Regions from separate parts of the Homo sapiens genome. Here regions 2, 3, 4 and 5 are each linked to region 1. The links are contacts of gene promoters, found by promoter capture Hi-C in blood cells and fetal thymus (Javierre and others, 2016). All regions are on one chromosome and are shown on one strand. Each heading gives the region's core, a stretch centred on a gene start or on the middle of the fragment in contact. The rest is flanking DNA. Distances are from core to core; before and after follow the strand shown.

What was found. Contacts are between HindIII fragments. The CHiCAGO score rates a contact against its expected background, and 5 or more counts as called.
Region 2: a contact is called between a fragment that was not itself captured here and the fragment with the promoter of MCU in region 1, in 2 of 17 cell types (M0 macrophages and monocytes). The highest score is 5.4, in M0 macrophages.
Region 3: a contact is called between a fragment that was not itself captured here and the fragment with the promoter of MCU in region 1, in 2 of 17 cell types (M1 macrophages and megakaryocytes). The highest score is 6.0, in M1 macrophages.
Region 4: a fragment that was not itself captured here is called in contact with the fragment with the promoter of MCU in region 1 in 1 of 17 cell types (megakaryocytes); the score reaches 8.6 in megakaryocytes.
Region 5: a contact is called between a fragment that was not itself captured here and the fragment with the promoter of MCU in region 1, in 3 of 17 cell types (M2 macrophages, M1 macrophages and megakaryocytes). The highest score is 7.0, in M2 macrophages.

The regions. Positions count from the first base shown.
Region 1 is chr10:72,688,699-72,693,687 of GRCh38, forward strand. MCU (mitochondrial calcium uniporter) reads left to right here and starts at 3,445. Exons shown (of 8, transcript NM_138357.3): 1 at 3,445-3,603. The coding sequence starts at 3,454. RefSeq lists enhancers at 3,063-3,122, 4,793-4,882 and silencers at 3,323-3,782, 3,873-3,922, 3,943-4,032. The HindIII fragment of the contact is 1,146 bases long and covers 3,100-4,245 here.
Region 2 is chr10:72,477,131-72,482,875 of GRCh38, forward strand. It overlaps MICU1 (mitochondrial calcium uptake 1), which reads right to left. Exons shown (of 12, transcript NM_001195518.2): 7 at 44-126. Among named protein-coding and RNA genes, the nearest start is that of DNAJB12, 130 kb to the left of the region's middle. The HindIII fragment of the contact is 2,903 bases long and covers 1,172-4,074 here.
Region 3 is chr10:72,444,454-72,450,231 of GRCh38, forward strand. All of the region lies in intron 8 of MICU1 (mitochondrial calcium uptake 1), which reads right to left. Among named protein-coding and RNA genes, the nearest start is that of DNAJB12, 92 kb to the left of the region's middle. The HindIII fragment of the contact is 265 bases long and covers 4,203-4,467 here.
Region 4 is chr10:72,829,890-72,835,377 of GRCh38, forward strand. MCU (mitochondrial calcium uniporter) reads left to right here. Exons shown (of 8, transcript NM_138357.3): 2 at 4,470-4,539. Among named protein-coding and RNA genes, the nearest start is that of OIT3, 61 kb to the right of the region's middle. The HindIII fragment of the contact is 7,528 bases long and covers 1-5,488 here.
Region 5 is chr10:72,850,300-72,855,773 of GRCh38, forward strand. All of the region lies in intron 2 of MCU (mitochondrial calcium uniporter), which reads left to right. Among named protein-coding and RNA genes, the nearest start is that of OIT3, 41 kb to the right of the region's middle. The HindIII fragment of the contact is 4,677 bases long and covers 867-5,474 here.

The sequences.
Region 1 (4,989 bases), core at 2,195-4,694:
AGATGAGAATACTTTAAACCATTCAGAAGAATAGCTACCCCTTAAAACTTCCCAGAGGTAACATGTTTTCTTCTGGAAATTACCATCTATCTAAGTTATACATATATATAAATTACTTTAAAAAGGGTCATCTATACTGTGTTATCTATATTATTTAAATGTATAGATAGCACCTGTAATCCAAGCATTTTGGGAGGCTGAGGTGGGAGAATCACTTGAGGTCAGGAGTTCAAGACCAGCCTGGCCAACGTGGTGAAACCCCCATCTCTACCAAAAATACAAAAATTAGCTGGGCGTGGTGGTGCAACACCTGTATTCCCAGCTACTCAGGAGGCTGAGGCGAGAGGATCGCCTCTGAACCCAGGAGACAAAGCTTGCAGTGAGCCAAAATCGTGCCACTGCCCTCCAGCCTGGGCGATAGAGTGAGACTTCGTCTCAAAAAAATATATATATACACATATATAAATAAAAATATATATATTATATAATAAAAAAGTATAGATAGAATAATTTTTTTTTAAGAGAGAGAGTCTCGCTCTCTCACCCAGGCTAGAGTGCAGTGCCATGATCATAGCTCACCATAACCTCAAATTTCCTGGGCCCAAGCAAGCCTCCTGCCTCAGCCTCCTGAGTAGCTGGGACTACAGGCGTGCACCACCACACCCAACTAATTAAAAAATATATATTTTTAGAGATAGGGTCTCGCTGTGTTGCCCAGGCAAGTCTCAAATATGTGGTCTCAAATGATCCTCCTGCCTCAGTCTCTCAAAGAGCTGGGATTACAGATATGAGCCACTGTGCTTGGCCCTCAATTTTTTAATGGTTGAATAATTTTCTGTTACAAAGTTAGTGTCTAATGTATTTAACCATTTCCCTATTGGAAGACATTGAGGTTTTCTTCAACTTCTTTCTCATGAAAGTTACAATTTTTAAAAGTTTTCTGTGGTTGTCTTGCCCTCCTTTTTAAATGTAGTATCTCTGGAGTGATCAGCACAATCTCTGGCACATAGCAGGTATGTTAATTCCCTTTCCTTCTCTCTCTATATAATGTGTGTGTATATACAGGCACACACACACATACTTTTTTTTAGGTTTGAGAAGAACTTTCTGTTGAGCTATCTACACTTTCTCCTTATCAGGCTTGGCCAACCAGCTCATATGAGATATGTCCTTTGCAGCTATGAAGAAGTTTTTCTCTGTGAGGAGATAATTGATATTTGTTTAAATTAATTGCCGGCCTTGGATTATCAACACCCAGAACTGAGTATAGTCAGTGAATCCTCAGATTTATACAGCCTATCTCTCTCTGGTGCATCAGTGGTTTCATCTTAGTAGATAAAAGATGACACATTTTGGTAAATAGGTAGGATGAAAACTTTTGCTAATACTGCCCATTTCATGTTTGTGCACTTAAAAGTATTATTTACTTAGTTCTTTTGCTAATGCATATGAGTAAATCTCACTGCAGGATGCACATCTAATTTTCATGCTTGGAAAAATAGAGTAAAGGCAATTCTAGTAAAATTTCTTAAAGTGGAAAGTGGAAATGGAGCAATCCTGATTCATAGCTAGATCTGGTGACAGCACAGAAAATAAAAACAAAACTAAAATCCATGGTGATCTCTGTAAGAAGGCATGAAGGGGTGAGAGAGAAAATGGCACAGCATGGGTAAATACATCAAATGCAGTTGGGATAAATATAGATGGGTGGAAAATAATTGTAAGGGAAATTGTTCCAGGAATGTCATGGATTTCCAACTAGGGGGATTACTGTGTGCAGCTGTTGAATGGGGGCTCATTCTTGAGGTCTCAAGTTCCACCTGTTGGGCAATAAAGCCTTTTGAGTGAGTGACATGATATCTACCCCGGAGAAGCCAATCATCTCACTGTTTTGGTGTAGGTGGGGCATAAGGATTAAACAAACAAAAAACTTCCACGTCATTTTTTAGCTATTCTTGGCCAAGAAGGTACCATTTCAGTCAAACTTTAAAGAATATTCTTAGAATAAGTGATAACATTTTCTTCGTATTTATGTGTGTGTTTTGTTTTTGTTTTAAATTTATCATCTAAGGCTACACTACAAAGATGTTTTCCAAAATTTAAAATAATGCTTGTATTTGCTTCCCAAACTATTTTCCTGCTCCAGATTTTAAAAAGAGGTGTGAGAATTTAATCAGCTCATAATAATAAACAGCTAGCAAGGAAATACTCTTCTAAGGAAATTCAGGACCCAAAATCTTTCTTAGGCAGTATTCAAGGAGCCCTCATTGTGAGTTTAAGTGGAAAGAAGTGTTTTTCAAGAGAAAGTGTTTGTTATTCCAAAGCGTATTCTGATAACTATTTCGGCAAAATTATGAAGCATCATTAAAATAGCCTTTTACATGAATTTTTTTTTTTTTTTTTGAGATGGAGTCTTGCTGTGTCGCCCAGGCTGGAGTGCAATGGCCCGATCTCGGTTCACTGCAAGCTCCGTCTCCCGGGTTCACACCATTCTCCTGCCTCAGCCTCCGGAATAGCTGGGACTATAAGCGCCCGCCACCACGCCTGGCTAATTTTTTGTATTTTTAGTACAGATGGGGTTTCACCGTGTTAGCCAGGATGGTCTCGATCTCCTGACCTCGTGATCCGCCCGCCTCTGCCTCCCAAAGTGCTGGGATTACAGGCGTGAGCCACCGCGCCCGGCCTTACATGATTTTTTATTACGTTATTAATGTGTTCTGTTTCTGTAAATGCACACAAAGTCAAATATGATAAAATAGTGCTGTTTCTGGAGAGTGTGAGAATATCCGTATAAAGGTGCTGTAAAAATGAATTGGGTATTTGAGATGTATACACGTCAGTTAATTCACTCTGAAGGCATGTACTCATTCTGGGACTTTGATATTGTAATCGTTCTACCTCTCCTATATTATGCTACGCATCACAGTCATTAGATCACTCCGTGATGTAGAGTTAATTTCAGCATATCTAAATATTATCAGTTATGAATGATAATTCTAGGCGTGTAGTTGAGAGTTACAGCATACACCGTTAATGGTTATTAATTTGGTGCCTATTTTGCCAACTTAGAACACTCACTTAGAACTCAACTTCGAACAAAGCTTTTCACAAATATCTATATCCCCCGTTACTCTTATCATAGCTCTATTGTTGGTGAAGATTAGCCGAACTGAACATGCCATCTCTATTGCTGTTATTTTCACGGGTTTGGGTGTCAATTATGGGTTCCCTAGAATTTGCCCGTAATTGACTATGTCCCACTATAGGTAACTCTGGAAGGGACTGGCAGCTTCCAGTGTGGTTCTCCCGCCTGTCGATTGGACCTTGCAGGAAGCCCCGCCTCATCAACTCAGTCAAGGGCTTTAGTTGGCCCGGCGTCGGTGAGTGGCGGGTCTTAGCTCCGCCCTGGCCGTCCGCTGCGCTGCCTGGGTCGGCGCCGTTTCCAGTTGAGAGATGGCGGCCGCCGCAGGTAGATCGCTCCTGCTGCTCCTCTCCTCTCGGGGCGGCGGCGGCGGGGGCGCCGGCGGCTGCGGGGCGCTGACTGCCGGCTGCTTCCCTGGGCTGGGCGTCAGCCGCCACCGGCAGCAGCAGCACCACCGGACGGTGAGCGAGCGCGCCCGGAGGCTCCGGGGAGGGCGGGGCGGCGCTGGCGTGTGGGAGCCGCCGGCGGGCAGGCCGCCGGGGCAGCAGGCGAGTTACCTCAACTCCCGGCCGCTCCGGAGGTTGCCGGGCACCGAGGAGCCGCCGTGCCCTTCAGGCGCCTGCGGCGGCGACCAGGAAGGGAGGGCGGGCGGGAGGAAGCCGAGAGGAGGAGGAGGGGCGACGGCGGGGATGTTCCCGCAGGACTGGGGACACCAGGGCGGGGAAGGCACGGGACTTGAACCTCTCCCCGACTCGCCCCCAATCGCGTTCCCTCCCTTCTTCGTTCTTAACAGCCCTGCCCCAAGGCTCCCTGAACGGAGCCAGATGGAAGTTGTCCCCTTTCCCTCCTCCTCCGGGCGGGTTGGGGAGTTCTGAGTTGCCGCGGCCGCCTTGTGTGTGCCAGGAGAGTGGCAGTGCCATGCTGCTGGGAGCTGCCCCGGAGAGCAGCCCAGGACCCCGGCGGGGCCGCCCCTCGTCCTCTCTCGTCCCCGAGGGGTCGGGCAGGAAGGAAAATCAAACTTTATTCCCCTCTGTGACTTCCTCTGTGTGTGTGCATGGGGAACCGGCTCCCTCGAGATGGATGCTGCATTGCTTCAGGAGGCAAGCTTCATCCTCTTGGGTCCTTAAAGGTGCTTTTGGGGGTCCTTTCGAGGGCTACTGTATAAGCGTGTTCACGCGTGCCTGAAGCGGGAAGGGTGGTCAGCAGGCACAGGAGAAGCGAATATGGTAAGTTGTTGACAGAGGCAGAGATTTGGTGGTTGTATTAACCAGTTGTTGCTGGGTTTCATTGGCTGGCAGAAAAAGAGGATTTCTGTTTGAACACTCTTGGGTGAGTGTGTGTGTGTGTGTGTGTGTGTGTGAGAGAGAGAGAGACAGAGTGTGAGAGAGATTTCTTTTTTCAATTGCAAGAGATGAATTTGGCATGGAGTTCTTAACCTAACAAGTCAGGAGGTTTCCTTCCCTTGGACTTTCTAGACCTATATGTGTTGGTCTCTGGCCAGCTCTGAGGGAAAGAATGTAGGTTTTATTTGCTGGGGCTGAGTTGTATAGTGTGATTATTGGAGGATCACTGCAAACAGCTTGATAGGAGAAACTACAATAGTACCTTCAACCCTCAATAAACACATCGCCTGCCTTGTTCTGATCATAACTCTTAAGAGGAAACTGAACTGGAGCTCTTCGGAGAGGATACTCCTAAGGCCAATGACAGCATCAAAATCGAGTGCCTGAAAGATCTATGAAAAGACCTAATGCTCTGCAAAAGCAAGGTTGTATTGTTATTATTAGTCATAGGTATGGACCCTATCCTCATTCTTGTGAGAAGATTGTACCTCTTTTTATTTGGCA
Region 2 (5,745 bases), core at 1,373-3,872, 210 kb before region 1:
TTAAATATTAATGTATTTAGAGGAACTCTCCAGGACAACTTGCCTGTTCAAATTCTTCCATATCTACTTCTCCATCTCCATTCAAATCAAACATCTTGAAGGCAATTTCAAAATTTCTCTGAGGAGCTGCAGAGGAGAGAAAAAAAATATTTAGAAGGCATTGACCAAAAATAAATCCCTTTTTAAAGAAAAACAAAAGGCTAAACACTAAAATGTAATATCAAAGTCACCATAAAAGTGACTGAGTCAAAGTCTCAATAAATGGAAAATGAAACTGCATTTATTGAGATCACCCTTTTAGGAATACTCCTTGAAACCAAAAAAGAGTAGTACTACGGCCAGTAAAGACAGCACTTGTCTACCTTTTTGTTTCAACATGCTTTGCCTTAAATGATTTAGCTTTGCTTTCAGAGACACCATCTTCTTAGCTTAGTAATATTAACGTTCTGTTGCTTCAATATGGTATTACTTATCTGGGCAAGAAAGTATGTCTAGGGTGAGACATATTGCTGCAAAGTAAGAAGTTGAAACACTACATCTTAGTCTTACCCTCACAACAAGCCAGCTTTCTACTTTGTTCTTTCTAGTCTCTTTGTTGTAAGTGCAGTCAGGAGTTCTGGGCATGTCACCCTGCCAACATGGATAATTTCAAGTTGGTTTCTTTTATTAGTTTATTCATTATCACTACAGCTCTATGGTAAGGCAGAAAAGTACACTGTAAGGTACTCAGCCCCCTATTTTTTTTTCTTTTTTTTTTTGAGACAGTTTCACTCTGTTGCCCAAGCTGGAGTGCAGTAGTGCCATCTTGGCTCACTGCAACCTCCGCCTCCAGGGTTGAAGTGATGCTCATGCCTCAGCCACCCGAGTAATTGGGATTACAGGCATGTACAACCATGCCTGGCTAATTTTTGTATTTTTAGCAGAGACGGGGTTTCACCATGTTGACCAGGCTGGTCTTGAACTCCTGACCTCAAGTGATCCACTCGCCTTGGCCTCCCAAAGTGCTGGGATTACAGGTGTGAGCCACGGCGTCTGGCCTCAGCCCCCTATTTCGATCATGTCAGCTGCATACACAAATTACTAAATATACTTAAATGGTAAAATTAAGCTGAAGTTTAAATAACAAAATGAAAAAATGCAAAGCTTGACAAAACTTTCCCTTAATGATGAAAGCTTTTCAAGGCTTCTTTAGTGTTCCTAGATCAGTCATAATATCATTAATATACTCTGTGCATTGGAATAAAATATAAACTCAACAGCCCTCCTCCCTTCCCATACTAAATGTTCTGGTAAAGAAAACTAAGTTGTTTACTTCCTTCCTTTGGTGCTTCAAATTTATACAGCTCTAGAGAATAAACCAAAATAAATATTCTATGTGTCCTTATACTAGTGAATTAAAATTTCAGTTAACATCATTTACATGAAAAAAGTTAAGATTTTATGCAGAGAAAAAAGTAAAATGAACTTTGTATATTATGTATAATTGTTAGAGAGGCCATATTCCCATCCTGCTCATGAATTTGTCAACAGAAACACTTTCTGGGCTCAAATTCCATTTTCAGGTAGTTAGGCAGCTAGGCTGGAAACTCCTGGTTTTTAGTTGCCTGGGTGAATCATGTGTGTGTCAGCTTCCAATTGTCTGCTTCACTTGATATTGACTTCCAATAGGTTTGCTTTCCTTTAGGCCAGAGACAGGGTTTCAACATGTCAGCTAGGCTGGTCTTGAACTCCTGACCTCAAGTGATCCTCCCACCTTGGCCTCTCAAAGTCCTGGGATTACAGGTGTGAGCCACCATGACCCAGCCTTCAATTGCTGGGAAGGATGCAGCTGGGGGAATTAGTTTTGTATATTTGTTGTCACTTCTCAAATTTTTGCTACCTGTCTGAATGTTACATTTTACTGAGGAGTTACTATGTGGCAGGCATTGAGCTAGATAATTGGAGGTGTTTATTATTTGACTTCATACTCTCAATCTTGAAAACTTTCATTTCTTTATTGTTTAAACAGAGGAGGATATTGGGGCTCAAAGCAGTTAAATGGCTAGCTCAAAAATCACACAGCTCCTTTTTGGCAGAAGTGGGAATTGAACTTAAGTCAACACTGACTCCAAAGCCTACAAACTTTCCTTATGTTCCAAGGCCTCTAATGTGAACATAGAGGTACTTAAAATGATAAACACACACTCTTCATGCTGACACGATTTGACCTAAAAACTAAGCAACAAAACATGACACAGTGGTTATGTCAGTCTCTGCAAAAGCTGAACATTCCAAGTTGATCATCTCAAGGAGATAACCAATATCACAGAAACACTGCCTGTGTTATGCTCAGGAGTTTAGGCTTGACCGTAGTAAATGGAAGATCCACAGGCAACATTAAACTCTCAGATAGGTTTGTCATGTGTTTTTGTTTTTTGGGACAGGGTCTTGTTCTGTCATCTAGGCTAGAATGCAGTGGCACAGTCATAGCTCAATGCAACCTCAGACTTCTGGGCTCAAGCAATCCTGCCTCAGCCTCTGGAGTAGCTAGGACTACAGGTGCGTGCCACCAAGCCTGGATAATTTTTCTATGTTTTGTGGAGATGTGGTCTCACTACATTGCCCAGGCTGGTCTTAAACCTCCTGGCCTCAAATGATCCTCCTGCCTCAGCTCCCCAAGGTGCTAGGATTATAGGTGTGAGCCACAGCACCCGGCTGGTTTGTCATGTTTTTTAAACTTCTGATTATAAATCTCTTCAGGTGGAAATGTTCTCTCTTATTCTTCCTTATTTTGTCACACTTGGCCCACTTCACTCCTATATGTTATTTGCCTAATTCCTGTAGATACTTGAGAATGTAACAATGGCAGAAAATATGAAGCCACTGAAGGTTTTAAGTAGGAGAGTGACACAATCAAGCAATTATAAAGGACTTCTCCAGCTACTGTGTGAAGAATGAGTTGGAAAAGAAAGGCCAGCTTTAAAGAAGATCAGAAGCTCTTTTAAATGTTGAAAATGCAAACTGCAGTGATGGCAGTGGTAATGGAGAGGAGGGACACATTTGAGATACCCAAAGAAGGCAGAAATTATAGAACTTAATGATTAGTTAGCTGTGATGAGTTGAGAGTGAAAAGGAATGACAGCATGACTGGCTTAGACTACTGTGTAGCTTGCATGGCATGAAGAAAGAGAGCAAATAGATGTAAAATGTTTGAGAAATAAAATGATTTCAGACGGGATCTGCTAAATTTAAGGGGTCTCAGCTTATGCAGATGAAGATGTTCAGGAGACAGTTGGAAATATGGGTCTAAAGCTCAGTGAGAGAGGTTTAAGCTGGGATTTATGGGCATACAAGTGGCTAGCTGCAAAGAACCTGAAAGGAAGTTGCCCATGCAAAACTGAGGAGTGAGGAGAAGGTCAAGAAAAGGGTAGATTGCAGGTGGAAGCCAATGTTTAAAGTGCAACGAAAAGGAAAGGAGGCAGTGACAGAGGAAGCGGCATCACAATATCCAGAGGAATACAGCCCAAATTAATAGAAATAGGAAAACATTTGATAAGAGCGAAGTCAATATGCTCCCATACATGAATTAAAGCAGTATCCCCATTCCCTCTCTCCACAATTACAGAGGTGACACAGACTGCTTACAACTTCAGCTTTATCAGGATCTTGTAGTCTTACTGTCTTGTGAGTTCCATGAAGGCATGTGCCCAGATCATTTAAATGACTGAATGAGTTATTCTAGCATATTATGGTTAATATCACCTCCTACAACTAAGGTTAAATACACTTTACCAAACAAAGTATACCCTGTAATGCTTGAGGTTTCTCTGTCTTTTTATCCTGGTATAGTTCCTTTCAAAGTACTGGCTTTATGTGGAGCAACTGAGAGTGCTTGTTAAAGTACATGCGCTGACACCACAGAGGCCATGAACCTGTGCTTGGGCCACTGCTGAGGCAAGCTGGGCTGCAGCCTTGGACATGCTCACTTGGGCCTCACCAGCCTCTCAGGGCCAGTCTTTCTAGAAAGAGCTCTCAGCCTATTCAATTTCATTGGCTGATCATGTCAAAGCATATGGGACAAACAAGCCAAAAACAAGCTTGCTTTAAGTGAAACATGCTACACAGTATATGATGTCAAGCGATTCTCTTGTAAACTTATTTGTCTCCTCTCAAATGTAGCCTTCAGGGCAATTTTTAAATCTAGTTGTTTTGGAAAGCTTATGGCATCCTGTGTTTATTCTAACTCATAATCTGTTTCCATAGAAAGGTTCTGAAAGAGGAATTTTGGTTTTTGTTTTGTTTTTTGTTTTTTGTTTTTTTGAGACTGAATCTTGCTCTATTGCCCAGGCTGGAGTGCAGTGGCATGATCTTGGCTCACTGCAGCCTTTGCCTCCCAGGTTTAAGTGATTCTCGTGCCTCAGTCTCCCAAGTAGCTGGGATTACAGGAGCACACCACCACCCCCGGCTAATTTTTGTATTTTTAGTAGAGACGGGGTTTCACCATATTGGCCAGGCTGTTCTAGAACTCCTGGCCTCAAGTGATGCACCCGCCTTGGCCTCCCAAAGTGTCGGGATTACAGGCGTGAGCCACAGCGCCCACCCTGAAAAAGGAATTCTTTTGAATGCTAGGCTACTTAGAGTGAAGAGTGAGGCTTTCCCCCCTGCTAAAACAGCATAATTTACTTTCTACACGATTTCCAAAATGGTCTCAGCAAGTGTTGAAACTGATTAGAACAATAAGACCCTACACAAAGTTTGTTACTATACACCTTTCACTTAGATTTCCTTAATAATCTTTGCTACTAGGATACAGAGCTACATTAGGTCTGTTCTGGTTACAAGTCTGTTTCTATAATATCATTCCACCATTGACAATCATGATAATAATAATGACAACTCTACACTGTTTCCTGAAGCACATTTTTTCTGTTTTGTTTTAGTAAAGAGAAAAAACCATCTTTTTCTATGTGTATTGAGTCACATAATCAGATAAACACTAGCTGTCCTGAGACTTTCACTGGTTGATTTCATGGCTATTTCTCTCACTGTTCTTTAATAGAAAATGCATAAGGAATGGTACGGGTAGGAATGGTTGAACTAAAGTTCTAATTCTGGCTTTTCCAATAACCTAATGAGTCATTTGCTGCCTTACATTATTTTTTGGTAGCACTGATGGAATGATGAAAAAATGAATAGGTTAGATTCTAAACAAGTTTCTTATTTTCTATTGGTTTGATTCTCCTATCAAAGAATTCTTACCTGTCCCATTCCTGTTTTAGAATGCTAGAGGATAAATGAGGTAATTGATATGCAATGTCAGAGAAGTCTGAGTTTTGAAAAAAACTTCCAGAATGTTCCTCTATTCAATGATGAGCTTTCCACTGAATTTGTAAGGATGATCACACAGCCTCTGATTATTTCTGAGGGAGAGGTCACCACTTCTGAGGTGTAAACATTGTTGACCATATTAAATGAGCTGTTTTTTTTCCTCATGCACAGTCCAAATCTACCCTGTGTAGCTCCTAAAAACTGTCATAGTTTAATCTTCTAGAGAAATAAATCTGCTTCTTCATTTATATGATGGCCCTCTGAATACATATAAACTATTATCATGTCTCTAAAAAGGCTTCTTAGAACTTGCTTCCAAAACCTCAACATCATAATAGCCCTCGTCTGGGGGGTACTTTAAATGGTCAATGCCCCCATAAATGCACTATATATATATACATATATATATATATATTTATTTATTTTATTTTATTTTTT
Region 3 (5,778 bases), core at 3,085-5,584, 240 kb before region 1:
TTTTTTTTTTTTTTGAGACAGGGTGTTGTTCTGTCCCCCAGGCTGGAGTGCAGTGGTGCAATCTTGGCTCACTGCAACCTCCGCCTCCCAGGTTCAAGAGATTCTCCTGTCTCAGCCTCTCCAGTAGCTGGGATTACAGGCGTGCACCACCACACCTGGCTAATTTTTGTATTTTTAATAGAGACAGGGTTTCGCCATGTTGGCCAGGCTGGTCTTGAACTCCTGTGCTCAGTGATCCACCTAACTTGGCCTCCCAAAGTGTTGGGATTACAGGCGTGAGCCACCATGCCCAGCAGCCTTGCATTGTTTACTGTGCCTGTGTCGCACACAGAGCTGGGGTACACTGCGTTTGCTCAATAAATAATTGTGGTTGACTGGTTAAATCTCTGCTTCGTTAGAAAGTCACCTACCCATTCTGTATTAATCATCTAACAGGAGCACAAGACACATTTTCCAGTCTACACTCTTAAATACCTACGGAGAGAATGTGATACTTCATTAGAATTGGTAATTATTCCCAGAGGAGAAAATCCTAAAGCTGCTCCTGAACTTTCAAGGATATGATAGGCTGTGGGCTCTGCTACAAAGCTCCATTTGCTCCTTTGCCTGAGTCCAGTTATATATAAAGTTCTCAATAATATTCAGCTCATATCTAAAAGACTGAAAGAAACAAAAGCAGGTAAGTAACTCAGGAAGCATGCAGGCAGGATAGGCAACGTCAGACTTTGTAGGCCAAAACAATTTGTACCCAGGGTCTGAAACTATGCTGGAAGGATAAATTAGGTAAAAATGGTAGGTACATTTATTTATTCAAGTGAAAACCAAAAAATCTTATCGGTAAGGTTGCCTTTCTTCTGTCACTTGATTTTAGAAAACTCTACTGTATCTTCAATTTTCATAAAATTCAAATCAGGGTAGATGTCTGAAAATCATTATAGTCACACTTTAGCCCATTATGAAAATGAGAATATTGATCAAAACACAGAGGGATCCACTCATCTAAATTAGAAATCTGAATTGAAGGATCCATACTCAGCTGATTATTTGTAGGAATCCTTTCATTTAGTCTTCACTCACTAAAATTCTAGCTTGGTAGCTTCTGGGAAATACTTTTTGCAGCACGACATATTCCCTGTTTTGGCTCTCTGGAAAGATTGGGGGATTCTTCTTGCATCCATATCAAGGCTGTTCATTATCTGGGGAATATAAATGAAGCTAGTACAGTGGCAAAAATACAAGATTTGCAGTTAGGCAGACTTGGGTTTGGTTTTTTCCTTGGTTATGTATCAACTGTGTACTTCTGGGCAATTTTTAACCTTTCTAAGCCTCAGTTCCCTCATCTATAAAATCAGTATAAAAGCAGTACCTCCCTCTTGGGATTACTGTGAGGGTAAAGTTAGATAATAGATGTGAAACCATATAAAAGCCCCAGTTTTAGGAGATAAGAACTAAGGACTAACTGTTGTCCTAATTCATCTTTCCTAAGATGCATTTACTTTTTTTTTTTCTTCACATTTTAGTATCTCTGAAATCTGTATGCTTCTTAAAATTGCTATTGGCTAAGGAGCAGTTGGCACTGTTTTCACTGACTGTACAAGTATGTCAGAGCTTGCAGAATGAGTGTCAGTAGCTTGGAAGAAAATCTCAGCTAAAAATGGATTATTCTTTTCAGAAACGCTGCACCACCGATGCTCTTGATGGCTCGGAGGACAATATTGTATGGAAAAACATAGACTTCCATGATTCAGAGTCAAAAAAAATTCAGAAGAGTTGGATCCTGAGTATGAAGAAATTTTAGACCAATTTATTTATTTTCTTTATATGTATGTACAAGAATGTCATAAAATAAAAATCTAAGCCTAATGGAGTATTTTTGTTTCGTTTTTTTGAGATGGAGTGTCACTCACTCTGTCGCCCAGCAGGCTGGAGCACAGTGGTGTGATCTCGGCTCACTCCAACCTCCACCTCTCGGGTTCCAGTGATTTTCCTGCCTCAGCCTCCTTAGTAGCTGGGATTACAGGTGTCCGCTACCATGCCTGGCTAATTTTTGTTTTTAGTAGAGACAGGGTTTCACCTTTTGGGCTAGGCTGCTCTCGAACTCCTGACCTCAAGTGATCCACCCGCCTCAGCCTCCCAAAGTGGTGAGATTACAGATGTGAACCACCAGGCCCAGCCCTAATGGAGTATTTTAATAGATATTAACTAAATATTTTTAGTGTAGAGCATTTTTGTCATGGTTTGCACAACAGCATTTTTTTCTTTCTTAGTGATTAATAAAATAATAGTGTCTCAAACCAATGTTTCTTTTAGATTCAATGAAATATGGCAGTAGGATGCCTGGCACATACTAAGAGCTCAGTAAATGTTGGCTGCTATTAATAATGATAGTAAGAACAATGAACAAAAGCTGCAAGTAATAAGTTTGTGGTCACACTTGCTTCTGTTAACTTTAGCTCTATTTAAAGAGAAATAAACTTTCTGTCTTCTACAAAGACAACAAAAAATAAGATTGAGAAAGGAAAGAAAAACTGTAAGTAAGTAATTCTCTTAATCCTCTCCTTTCTACTCTTCACATGAACATTTTGCATGTTTATAAGAAGAGAAATAAAAGAGATGGGCAAGACTGGAACTATGCTTAGAGCATGGAAAGTTGAATTATAACCTCTTTTTGCCCGTAAAAACCAGATTTCTGCAAAGGTTTACGGAAACAGGAGCAGTAGGGACAAACTATAAGGCCTGAAGTTACTATGTATGGGGCACAAATAGGTTGAGGGATAATAATGTACAAAATGCTTCCGATTCACTCTCTCATTTGAGTCTCATAATAACCTTTGAAGTAGGCATAATAGCTACTGCCTAGAGGGACCTGGGATTTGAAGAGATAATAGGACAACACCAAGATCATAATATAGGCTAGAGGGTTTTAAAATTACTCTATACAGATATATATTATTGGCATGATTATAGTCATGACAAAATTGTATATTACTGTTTCTATGAATGACTTAACAAGCCCATAATTACAGACTGACTGTAAGTATACATATATATTCCTAATAAAAAGAAGAAAAAGAAAACCTAGGTAAGCAATTATATGTTAAACTGCTAGTTTATAACCAGGAGGCAATGCTGTTAAAAATAGTTACTACTTGAAGTTTTCTATAGGAACAATTTCACAGATGCAATATACGAAAAAATCATTGGTGTACAGGCAGAAGTTAAAAAAAAAGATATGAAAAAATCAATTGTGCCTCAGTTAGGAAAATGGCCATGTTCAATGAATCTATCATGAAAAGTCTTGCTATGCTCCACAAAAGCTGGAGAGTTTAACTGAGAGGAACAGAGGTCTATTATATTAGAACGATAAAACAGTTAAGGTTATATCTGCTTTTACCTGGATGAACTGAGCTAAATTATGAAGTTGCATATTCTCAAATTTCTGCCTACACTAAAAACCTACATTTTGAGGACACCATCTGTAAAATTAGTAACACATTATTCTTCAGTCTCCAGAGCTCAAATCCCAGTTGATCTCACTTTTTCTGATGACCCACCCCTTCTTTGATTGGCTTAATCTTATCATCCATTTTAATTCTCACCATTCAGAAAGCCATTGCATAGGTGATGAGCTCATTCACATTGGGCACCATGGAAAAAGTTTATATATATGTGTGTGTGTGTGTGTGTGTGTGTGTGTCTGTGTGTGTGTATATGTGTGTGTATATATATATATATATATATTTTTTTTTTTTTTTTTTTTTTTTGAGACAAAGTCTTGCTCTCTTGCCGAGGCTCACTGCAACCTCCGCCTCCTGGTTCAAGTGATTCTCCTGACTCAGCCTCCTGAGTAGCTGGGATTACAGGTGCCCACCACCATGCCCAGCTAATTTCTGTATTTTTAGTAGAGACAGGGTTTCACCATGTTGGCCAGGCTGTTCTGGAACTCCTGACCTCAAGTCATCCGCCCACCTTGGCCTCCCAAAGTGCTGCAATTACAGGTGTGAGCCACCGCACCTGGCCAAGTTAATATTTTTTAATACACTAAACATTACATTGGAAAGTGCCCATTTTTTAGAAAAGGAGAGCTAGAGATTGGAACACAATATATAGAAATTAGAATTCAGATTAAGTTGACTGACAAGCATTAGGAAAAATGCAATAAAGATTGGGAGACTGAGGCTCAGAAACATGTAGCTTAAGGAAGCTTTAATACACAAAGTGAGAACAGTCCAAACACAGGCAGGTGAATGGCAAAGGATCTAATGGGCCACACTGTATCACTGTCATTCTCCTTTCATAAAGGAAAAAAAAAGAAAATATTTTCCCCCTTAAGAACAGGAAAACCATGAAGTCCTTTAATGATAACAATTGTAAAAAACAGCCAGGGAGAAAATTTGCAAGATTTCTTTTACAGTGCTGTAACCTATTGGTTAATTATAAGTTTAGCTGTCCCTTGCTAGACAATTAAGCTTTGTTTGTTCGTTTTGTTTTGGTTGTTTTAGATAGGGTCTCACTCCGTCACCCAGGCTGGAGTGCAGTGGTGTTATCATGGCTCACGTAGCCTCGACCTCCTGGGCTCAAGCGATCTTCCTGCCTCAGCCTCCAGGGAGCTGGGACTACAGGCATTTGCCACCATGACCAGCTAATTTAAAAAATTTTTTAATCTGGGCATGGTGACTCATACCTGAAATCCCAGCACTTTGGGAGGCTGAGGCGGGCAGATCACATGAGGTCAGGAGTTTGAGACCAGTGTGGCCAACATGGTGAAACCCTGTCTCTACCAAAAATACAAAAATTAGCAAGGCATGGTGGCAGGTGCCTGTAATCCCAGCCACTCAGGAGGCTGAGGTACAATAATTGCTTGAACCCAGGAGGCAGAGGCTGCACTGAGCTTAGATTGCACCACTGCACTCCGGCCTGGGTGACAGAGCAAGACTCTGTCTCAAAAAAAAAAATTTTTTTTTGGTAAAGACAGGGTCTCACTATGTTGCCCAGGCTGGTCTTGACCTCCTAGGCTGAAGCAATCCTCCCACCTTGGCCTCCCAAAGTGTTGGGATTAAAGGCATGAGCCACTGCACCTGGTAAGTTTCTTAGAGTACCACAGACAGACCATTAAGTCAGGTTATGTTTTAAATCCTGCAGCAGTAAAGCGTTTTTTTATTTTTTTCTTTCTGGTCATCAAGTTAATTAAGGTTTTCTTTAGTTTTTTTTTAAAAGCAACTTAAGAAACATAAACGATACTTCTCAATTTTGTGGTACTTTTTCATTTTTAAAATAGCTAATGAGGAATGTTTCATGCTTAAGTATATTGGTCTATCTCTAGATCGAACTTCACATTTACAAACATGGCTTTTAGGAGTTCCCACATATGTTTGGGAAGTGGAGTGGGCAAAATCCTGGAGAAGACAGAATTGTTGAAAGCGGGGCTGATACCCCAGAATGTGCCTAATATACTAGACCATAGATGCCACAGAGAGCTGGAGAGGGAGTGGGCATCAACATGTATGTGTACTTTGCCAGGCTTTCGTCCACATCTGATATTTACTAATTCAACACTATTTCCTGAAAATCTGGTTTGTGTTCTGTCTCTGGGAAGCACTAAGGAAATAATGGCGGGCCCAACACTCTCGTGAAAGTTCTCAGGGAGTGTTTGCAGAGAGACAGGTATTTAACAAACAATGAAATGACTATGTAATTAAGTGATTTGAAAAAAAAGTACAGAGTCCTTTGGAAATGTGTAACAAAAATGTGATCTAATTTGGGGTGGAGAGGTGGTGA
Region 4 (5,488 bases), core at 2,505-5,004, 140 kb after region 1:
AAGTTTAAAGAAATAAAAGGACTTACATGTGTGTTTGTAAATACTTAATATGTAGTATTTTATAATTGCCAGTGTCATTATAGAAGTAGGCGGGAAGGACTTTGAGAAAGTGAGTTGTCCCAAAACTACAGAAACTGTTCTATAAGCAAGGATCAACAAACATTTTCTTAAAGGGCCAGATGGTAAATATTTGATACTTTGTGGGCCGTGTGGTCTCTGTTGCAGCTACTCAACTCTTGCAGCTATATACCAACCACTCAGTTTTGCTGTTGTGATGTGAAAGTAGTTGAGTGGGGTATAGAGAGTAAGTAAATGAATGAGCTTTGTTATGTTCTAATAAAATTTATTTACAAAAACAGGCAGCCAGCTTGCCAACCCATGTTCTATATCATCTAACAAATATTACTCATAACCAGCCATGTATTAATGTGGTTCACTGCCCCACAAAAACATCTTTTATTATTGTCAAGGATAATTTATGAACTCATAGAGGACAGAGGATTTCTGTTGTAAAACGGCCCAGTGTATGTATATTGAAGTGATATGATGGTTGGGATTTCCTTTTAAGAGATACGGAAGGGGAAAAACTGGGTGGCTGTAGATGAACTGAATTTGATAAAATGTTGATAAATATAGAAGCAGATGATAGGTTCATGAGATTTCTTCACACTGTGCTTCCTACTGTATGTGTCTGAAGATGTCAGTATTTAAAAGTTACTACATAAACAAATAATGGCCCAGTAAAGGCAGCAGTTTCTCCCTTCTCTTCTCACATCTTAGAATAGGAAGGAGAATAAGATAAAAATACAGACCCCATCTTCAGCACAACTAGGGAGATCTCTGCAATTCCAAAACACTAATTATATAAAGGAAGGTTGCCAGATCCAGTGAAGGTCAAGTAGAGGTGTGTGGGGAAACCCTGAGGAATGACACCTGTGGTCGCAGATCCCCAACAAAGCCAGCCAAACACAGTTCTCCAAAGGAAGCTGCCGACCTCAGACTTCTCCAAAGCAGTATTCAACACTGATTCTTTCCCTTCCAAATCCTCAAGGAAAGATTAATTTAGAAATTAACATGCCAAGCTGCAGGAAATTTAGCTCTCATGAGTCCTACTTCTACAGGAAGATGTGCAGCCAACCAAGAAATGAAAGGAGAAACTACAGCTAAAGTATTGGCAGTGAACATAGAGTCCATTGATCTATAGCATTAAGACTAAAACAAATGTGGAAATTAGATTTACAGAGAAGAATATGAATCGTTAAAACCTTGACAGTGCAGTAATGAAAGTCGGAAAGATGAGGAAATAAATGATGTTGTCATGTTTTATAACAACCTGTCAAAAGATGTCATTTGAAATCAGTAAATCTAGTAAAATCTTAAGATTGGGGTGGAGGGGAGTCTGTAGTTGATACATAGATACGTAGGTTAGAGCGAAAGGTAAATGCTAAGAGAAATAATCTAATAAACGAAACCGAATGGTAGAGGGAAAGAAAAAAGAAACATAGCTGTATTAATCATTGCTGACGATAGAGATAGGATTTTTATATGTTACAGTATATTTTATATAAAATTATAGTTATAACATAAACTATAAAATATAGGGTTGGTTTTTGTTTTGTTTTGTTTTGTTTTTTGCCTAACATGTATTTGATGAGGACTTGTTATTTGTCAAGCACTGTCAGTGACCAAAACAGATGAAAATTTTTGCTTCGTGGGTTGGAGGAGACAAAAATAAGTAAATAATTTGTTAAGAGGTGTTAAATGTATGGGGGGAAAATACAGCATAAAAGGATTCGGAGTACCCATTGATGAGATTGCTTTTTTTGAAGTGGATGAGTAGAGCAAATATTTGAAGGAACTGAGGGAGCCATGTAGTTATCTAGAGAAACAGTATTCTAAGCAAAGGTAATCGCTATTGCAAAGGCCCTGAAGCAAAAATGTAGCTGAGTTCAAGAAACAGGGAAGAGTCTAAAGGGGTAAAGCACAGTAATGTAGGAGGGAGAGTGGTAAGCGATGAAGTCAGAGATAATGGGATATCAGAGAATATTAGACTTTCAAAGGCCGTTAAAAGAACTTTGACTTTTACTCTGAAGTAACTACTAGAACAAAAAAGTAAGCCTTTCTTAAGGAATATATATATAACTAAAACAAAGCAAGCACAAATCTTTGAGTAATTTTATTTTAATGTTTTTTAAGAGATGAGGTCTCACTCTGTTGCCCAGGCTGGAGTGCAACGGCACGATCATAGATCACTGCAGCCTCTTCTAACTCCTGGGCTCAAGCAGTCCTCTCACTCAGCCTCCCAAAGTGCTGTGATTACCGGCGTGAACTACCATGCCTAGTCACTAGTAAAGTATTTTTACTTTAGAAAGCATAGCATAAAATTTCATAACTGATAAGAGATTACGTATGTATGTTATATTAATTAAAGTATGTAGGCTAATTCTCCTATTAAAACATTCCCAGATCAGATTACTAAGAAAATGAAAGCAAAGAAACTCAGAAAGGATAACAAAATTAAAGAACACACAAAGATGTAACAGGCATATGCAAACTCAAACGTGCAGGGATTGTGTTCCTAATATTGGACAAGACTTAGTCCAAAAACCATTACATGAGGAAAAAAGAGCCTACAGGATCTGCATGAAAACAACTTCAAAGTGCTTCTCAGAAATACAAACAGAGACTTAAATGGAAAGACTTAACAAGATTCTTTGGAAAAAATCAAAATCCTTTTTTAACCCATGAAGTTAATACCTCAAAACAAAACATAGCTAATATTTATTGAGAATTTACTCTATGCCAGGCATGTTCTAAGGACTTTACATGTATTACTCATTTAGTCCTCACAACTACTTTATATGGGTGATGTTAGTACCACTTTTTGCCCATTTTTCAGTGAAGAAACCAAGGCACAAAGAAGGTAATAACTTGCCCAAGAGTTGCAGTTAAAGTTACTGAACCACAAAATGAACTCAGGCAAGATTATTTCAGATTCTGTGCTTTTAACCACTACATGATACTGTTTTTTGAAACCAATAGCTATGTGTGTGTGTGTGTGTGTGTGTGTGTCTAGATAAACTGACTCTGAAGTTCATGTGGAGAAACAAATAAACAAGAATAGCTGGGAGTTGTCTTAAAGAAAAGTAATAAGGGAAAACTAGCCCTACCAGATACTGAAATAAGACTAGAATGTTAGTTAAAACAATGTGGCTACTAGAGCATGAACAGAATAGAATTTCAGAAGTAGATCCAAATTCATGTAATTATTTGGAAAATTATAAAGATAGCATTTCAAATAAGAAAGGAAAAGATGTATTATTCACTGTATGGGACAGCTATGTTGTCATTAGAGGGAAATTAGTTAGATTTCTACTTAGTAACTTTGACTAGAAGTAATTCCTAATGAATCAAAGATTTAAAACGAAACTAGCTGTGAGCCAAGTCTCAAGTAATTTTTAAATTATTTATTTAAATTGTTTATAAATGTCAGTCTTACATTTCTGCATGCTCTTTTAAGTTGAAACGAGATGGAAATTAATGATAGTCATACAAAGTCCATCAGCACAAAGAAAAATCATTTAGGACTCTGTGACAATGCACACCTTAATACAGCTTAGTAGATACTAAATGATTTTTCTTTGTGCTGATGGAATGGAATATGTCAGGCCTGAAGCTGGTATATTGGATTTTGTTCAGTTAATGCCTGCCCTTCCTCTTCCTTTGATACTTTTTGGGGTTGGGAAAGTAAAAGATACAAAGGAATAAATTAAGCATTTGGCAAGTGAGAAATGTATTCAGTATTCATTCTGAAACATGGTTTAGTTATGAGAACCTGAGTCCCAGATCCACATCCACAGTGATTGCTCTTCGAGGAAGTAGTAGAGGTGGATGTGAGTGTGAGTGATTTTTTCTAACACTCTGAAGCGGTCGTGATTAAGGACTCAACTAGTGAGGTTGCCTCTCCAGGTTTTTTAAAAAGGAGAGTGAACATAAAGACCAGATGCCTACTCAATAATAGTAAATTCTTGATACAGCTACTTAATAACTCTCATACCTGGTAAGAGATAGGAAGGAGACGCAGATCTGAAAGGTAACCGGAGGAAGAAAAAGCCAGAAAGTTTACTTGAGGCCTGGTAGCACCTAGAATCAATATTAAATGTTTTTAAAAGTACATAAAACATGATTTGTATAATTCTAATTTTGTTTAATGTAACATGTATACTTGTGTTTGTATATGTAAATGTGTTTGCATAAATCTTGAAAACATACCAAAATGTTCACCACTATTATTTCAGGATGATAGGAGTTTGAAAGACTTTTATTTTCTTTTATCTGTATTTTTAAAGTTTTCTACAAAGCATGCATATTACTTAAGTAATCATATGTATATATTTATTATATACACACACATAAGTATATGTTTGTTGTTCCATTCTGACAGTAGATGTATCTTTTGTGTTTTCTAGGTACACCAGAGGATCGCTTCCTGGCAGAATTTGGGAGCTGTTTATTGCAGCACTGTTGTGCCCTCTGATGGTGAGTTTCAGCAAATCCACCTTTTATGTCTAATATTATTTCCTTCTTAGCTCAGTGTTTCCTATTCTCTGACACAAAAATTTATAAACCATACTCTTTCAGTTAAGGTGGGCTTAGGGGTCAGAGAGAGAAAGGAGGAGAAGGAAAATAAAATTTGGATGAGAATCTAGTGAGTTTAGAGAAGAAACCAAGAAGAAACACTAAGTTCCATTAAGACTTTATAGGTTAAATGATCATTTATCTTTTATTTTTGAGATGGAGCCTTGGTCTGTCGCCCAGGTGGAGTGCAGTGGCGCGATCTCAGCTTAGTGCAGCCTCTGCCTCCTGGATTCAAGCAATTCTCCTGCCTCAGCCTCCCAAGCAGCTGGGACCAGGCGAGCACCACCATGCCCAACTAATTTTTGTATTTTTTGTAGAGACAGGGTTTCACCATGTTGGCCAGACTAGTCTCGAACCCACGTGATCCGCCCACCTCGGCCTCCCAAAGTGCTGGGATTATAGGCATGAGCCACTGTGCCCAGCCTCATTTATCTGTTAAAACTAGGGACATAGTTAATGTGAAGATCACAGAAGCACCATCTTTGGTGTTTTCTAACCATTGGGTCTTCACATTATGGATAATGATCAAACACTCCAGCCTCTTGTTGTATCAGAGCCTAGACAGAAGGAACTCAAAGTCTGAGACCTCCTGCTCTTGCTTATCTTTTTCCCTACTTAGGCATAGGACTGCAATACTCTTCTTTGATGTGGGAAGGGATAAACAGATGCTTGGAGACCAATGCAATCCTTCGTAAATGTCTATGATGCTATAAACTGGCGACAGGATCCAAACCTTTGTTGTTTTTATGGTAGTGGAGGGAGATGTGTTTACAACTCTTATTGTCATTTCTCTTACCCGGTATTGTGCATTTACAGTTTAGGTTGCTTAGTTTAGGGGTTGACTGTTAGA
Region 5 (5,474 bases), core at 1,955-4,454, 160 kb after region 1:
TATTACAGAAAATGGGGAGGAAATCGACAATGTTAAGATCATAAGCCCCTGAAATCATCCATCATATATAGTTCTACTCCAAGTAGCTTTGCGGAAAAACCCCAACATGTGCTTCCTTGTGTACCAAGTCCCTTTCATAATAAGCCCTCAAGATATATACAGGTGATATATTTTAGTGGAGATTTTACTCATTGTTTTGAACACCAGCCAAACTTCATACTATATATTTTTACAAGCATTTAAAAAATATTTTACAAAATAACAAGCATTTGTATTTTATGACTGTTTTTTTCAACTCCTGATGCCTCAAAGGCATTTTTAAAATATGTATTCCTTCTTCAAATGCAATTGTTTGTAGTTCCTGCACTACTCTTCTTAGTCTGCACAATTCCGCATCTTTTGGTTTTTATGCCTAAATCTGTTATCATGTTCTAGCTCTAAGTATTCATGTTGAATGCTCCATAATTTCTAGGCTTTTTTTGAAGCACACTGCTCTGGAACATACTTATATTATTTCTTACTTTATTCACATGGAAATCAAAGCAAAAGATTAAAAAATTCAACCAAACAGCCACTTGATGCAATTTATACTTTAAAAGAATATTTTTTATCTAGGTAATAGTAGCTGACAACTGTCATTAGCTTATGAATACCCATTGTGACTTCGCTACAGCCAGCTGTTTATTGTTTATATTGTGAAACTTGAGGAACCTTGGCAATAGTTATTCCTGAGTTGCAAACTAAGAAATCTAACGTTGACATTACAGTCTACTGTGTAGGAAAGAAGTAGGCATTGGGATTTCAAAAGCAGTATAATAAAGGCTTGTCAGCTCTGAATTGCATTATTCCTTGTAGAGTTTCTCAAAAGCTTTCTTATTTCATTCCCTTGAAAAAAGCATCATGCTCTTTAAAGGAAGAAGTTAAATTGGGTATGAAAGACCTTCATATTCTCTGTTGACTTTGTCTCAGTTATTTTAAAACAGTAACCCCTAAGCATTTACCTGTGAAACTGATGTTTTAGTGCATTTGTAACTGCCCAACAGCTTCTCTGTGCCCACTGCCTAGATAGAACCAATTTGTCAAGAGAGGAGAACTGCAATAGAGAAAGAGTTTAATTCACACAGAGCTGGCTGAACAGGAGACTGGAGTTTTATTACTCAAATTAGTCTCCCCAAATTGGAGACCAGGATTCTTCAAGGATAGTTTGGTGGGCAGGGGGCTAAGGGAATGAGTGCTGCTGATTGGTTGTGGATGCAGTCATAGGGGTGTGGAAAATGGTCCTCATGTGCTGAGTCCTCTTCTGGGTGGGGGCCACAGGAGCCTGAAAGGACATCTCAAAAGGCCAATCTTAGGTTCTACAACAGTGATGTTATCTGCATGAGTGGGTGTGGGGAAGTTGCAAATCTTGTGACCTCTGGAATAATGGCTTGGTGTAATCCCTTCCACTTACATCTTAGCAGAATTCAGCCTCCTCCCATCTTCCTAACCTGTTGCTCTTTCGTTAGTTTTTGTGAAGGCAGTTTATTTTGGGGGAAGGCATATTATTTAAACTAAAAACTAAATTTCTCCCAAAGCTAGCTAGGCCCAAGCCCAGGAATGACCAAGGGCAGTTTGGAGGTTAAAGGAAATATGGGGTTGGTTAGATTAGGTGTCTTTCACTGTCATAATTTTCTCACTTTTATAATTTTTGCAAAGACAGCTTCAAGATCCTCCAAATATATTTCAGACTCACAGATTCTATCTCGTATTTCAATTCAACTCTCTCTACTTCTTGATCTGTGGTTACTCTTTTTCACATACAGAAAGGGGATAATTGGATAATTTAATCACTAATCTTAATGACTTCGTCATCATTACTGCCTATAGAAAAGATAGAAATATTCTCATGTTAGTGGTTCTGACTTCAGGAAACAGTAGATTAATTGTTAAGGATTCTTTTAGAACAAGAAGGAATATAACAAATTTTAAAAATATCTTTAGGTATTGCAGACTTTAGATAGTACATGCTATATATTCAATTCAAATTACTATTTTGACCTCTTCTTCCTTAGGAAACAGACTATTCCTTTGGAAGGAAAAAGGCAATAAGGATTTCTGATTTTGCCTTTTAGTTTTTATGTAAAAATTCAAATCGTACATCCATGAAGTATTAGCTGCTATGGGAATTACTATCCTGCTATAAACAACTAGAACACCAGACAAAATATCTGAAACAACTGTTTTCAGACACTGGACAATAGGCACACAGGACTGTGATGCCTGAGATAAGAGGAACAAATGAGTTGAACCCTGCATTGGTTGAGTTTACAGCCTGAGGCGGCCTCTAAATTGCATCACAGAGAGGGGAAACAGAGCTTGGCCATCTAGTTAAGATGAAGAAACAGAGATCAGAGTTTGTAAATCCCAAGGCAGCTAGAATTTATGAGACAGAGGTTTACAGAGGAAGGAGCTATGAAGAGAAAGAGGAGTCTCGGAAATCTGCATAGGCATCCTGTGAGGCTTTGGCTGAATTCTAAACCACAAGACCAGGCTAGAACAACTTCCTAGAACATAACTATTGCCAGTAATATAAAATGAATAATTTTGCTTCCCTCTAGCCACAGTAGAGAGATAGCCTTGGACACATGAACATTTGGTAGACATTCTCAGAAGAACCATATCTTAGAAGTAGGGACAAATTGGTCCTAGAATAAAGGATTCTCTAGATCTGTCCTAAAATAATTTTTTGAAGTCTTGAAAGGGCCAAACTAACATGCAACTAATTTAACTATACAAGATCCAGCACTCAACAATGTAAAATTAAAAATTTCTAACCACCAATCAAAAATTACTAGGCATATGAAGAAGCAAAAAATAAGCCTTCCAAAAATTCAGTCAATGAACAGACCTAGAAATGTCAGAGATAATGGAATAAACAGCCAAGAATGTTAAAATAGCTATTATAAATATGATCCTTATGCTCATAGAGAAAAGGAAAAATATAAGTATAATGTGAAAAGAAATGGAAGATATAAAAAGAAATGCAACTTCTAGAGGTGAAAAATATGTCTGAAATGAAAACACCATATAGATGGAATTACCAGGAAATTAGACACTGCAGAAGAAAAAAATCCATGATGTTGAAGTATATTGCAATTAAAACTATCCAAAATGAAACTGAGAGGGGGAAAAAAGCCCCTGAAATGTATGAAGAAAGCCTCAGTGACCTGTGGGACAATATCACAATGGCCTAACATAAGTGTAATTGGAATCCCAGAAGGGTAGCAGACAGAAAAAAATAATAGTTGAATAAAGGTCAAAAGTTTTCCAAATTTGAGGAAAGCCAGATCTAAAAAATCTAACAACTCCCAACCATTCATAAAGAAAAGCAAAGCACATCACAGTCAAATTGTTGAAAACCAGTGATAAAAGGAAAATGTTGAAAAGCAGGCAGAGGGCTGGGCATGGTGGCTTACACCTGTGAGCCCAGCATTTTGGGAAGCCGAGGCAGGAGGATTGCTTGAGACCAGCCTGGGCAACATAGTGAGACCCTGTCTCTACAAAAATAAAAATTAAAAATTAAAATTAAAAAAATTAGCTGGCCCAGCACTTTGGGAGGCTGAGGCAGGTGGATCCCCTGAGGTCAGGAGTTCGAGAACAGCCTGGCCAACGTGGTGAAACCCTATCTCTACTAAAAATACAAAAATTTGCTAAGTGTGGTGGTGTGTACCTGTAATCCCAGCTATTGGGGAGGCTGAGGCAGGAGAATCGCTTGAAGGTGGTGAAGGCTACAGTGAGCCAAGATCACACCACTGCACTCCAGCCTGGGTGACAGAGCAAGACTCTGTCTCAAAAATAAAATAAATTAGCTGGGCATGGTGGCACATGCCTGTAGTCCCAGCTACTTTGGAGGCTGAGGCGGGAGTATCCAGTGAGCCCAGTAGTTTGAGACTGAGTAACCCATGATGGTGCCACTGAACTCCAGCCTGGGCAACGGAATGAGACCCTGTCTTTATTAAAAAGTAAAAGTTTTAAAAAGGCAGACAGAGGAAAAAAGACATAGAGGAACAAAGATAAGAATATACACAAACTCATATCATATACTATGCAAAACAAAATTTCTTTAAAAGATAATCAAAAGGTAAACCACACAAAAATAATGTGCAGTTTATAATATATGTAGAAAAACGTGTGAGAACAATACCACGAAGAATGCAAGCAGGGGGAATGGAAGTATTTGTTGTAAGGTCCTCTAAACTATACCTAAAGTGATATTATATTATTTGAAGACTGACTGTGATATGGTAAAGATGTATAACATAGAGCAGAATTCAGCAAACTATGACCTTCAGCAGTGCTCCTCAACCTTTTTGGCACCAGGGACCAGTTTTGTGTAAGACACTTTTTCGATGGTACCAGTCTGTGGCCTGGGGGTTGGCGACCCCCTAACCTACAGGCCAAAGCCAGCCTATTGCTTATTATAAATAAAGTTTGTTGGAACACAGCCATGCCTATTTGTTTACATATTGCCTGTGGCTGCTTTTGCACCACAGTAACAGAGTTTGTAGTTGTAACAGAGATCTTATGACCCACAGAGTCTAAAATATTTAATACCTCAGCCTTTACAGAAAAAAGTTTAGCAATACTTGCTCTAGAGTAATGCTTAAAAAAATAAAATAAGGGCCAGGTGTGGTGGCTTACGCCTGTAATCCCAGCACTTTGGGAGGCCAAGGCGGGCGGATCATTTGAGGTCAGGAGTTTGAGACCATCCTGGCCAACATAGTGAAACCCTGTCTCTACTAAAGAAAAATTAGTATGGTTGTGGTGATGGGTACCTGTAGTCTCAGCTACCCAGGAGGTAGAGGCAGGAGAATGGCTTGAACTCAGGAGGTGGAGGTTGCAGTGAGCCAAGATCCCACTATTGCACTCCAGCCTGGGCAACAGAGCAAGACCCTATCTCAAAAAAAATAAAAATAAATAAAATAAGGTATATTTAATAAGTCAATAGCAGAGATTAGCCTGAGCATTGTGGCTCAATACTGTAATTCCAGCACTTTGGGATGCTGAGGTGTGAGAATAGCTTGAGTCCAGGAGTTCAAGGTCAGCCTGGGCAACATAGTGAGACCCTGTCTCTACCCCCACCAAAAAAAAAAATTATCCAGGCACAGTTACATATGCCTATAGTCCTAGCCACTCAGGAAGCTGAGGTAGGAGGATCACTTGAGCCCAGGAGATCAAGGCTGCAGTGAGCTGTGATCACACCACTGTACTCCAGGCTGGGAGACAGATTAGGACCCTGTCTCTAAAAAAAGAGATTAAATTATAATAAATAGTGATTAAATGAAAAAATCCTTTTTAAAGAGATTAAAAGATAGTAAATCTAAAAATGGCAAGAATAGAGGAAAAGTAGAAGAAAGAACAGTAGGGTCAAAAAGAAAATAAGTAGTAAGATGGTAAGACTTATATTCAGCCATACTTAAATTACATTAAATGCA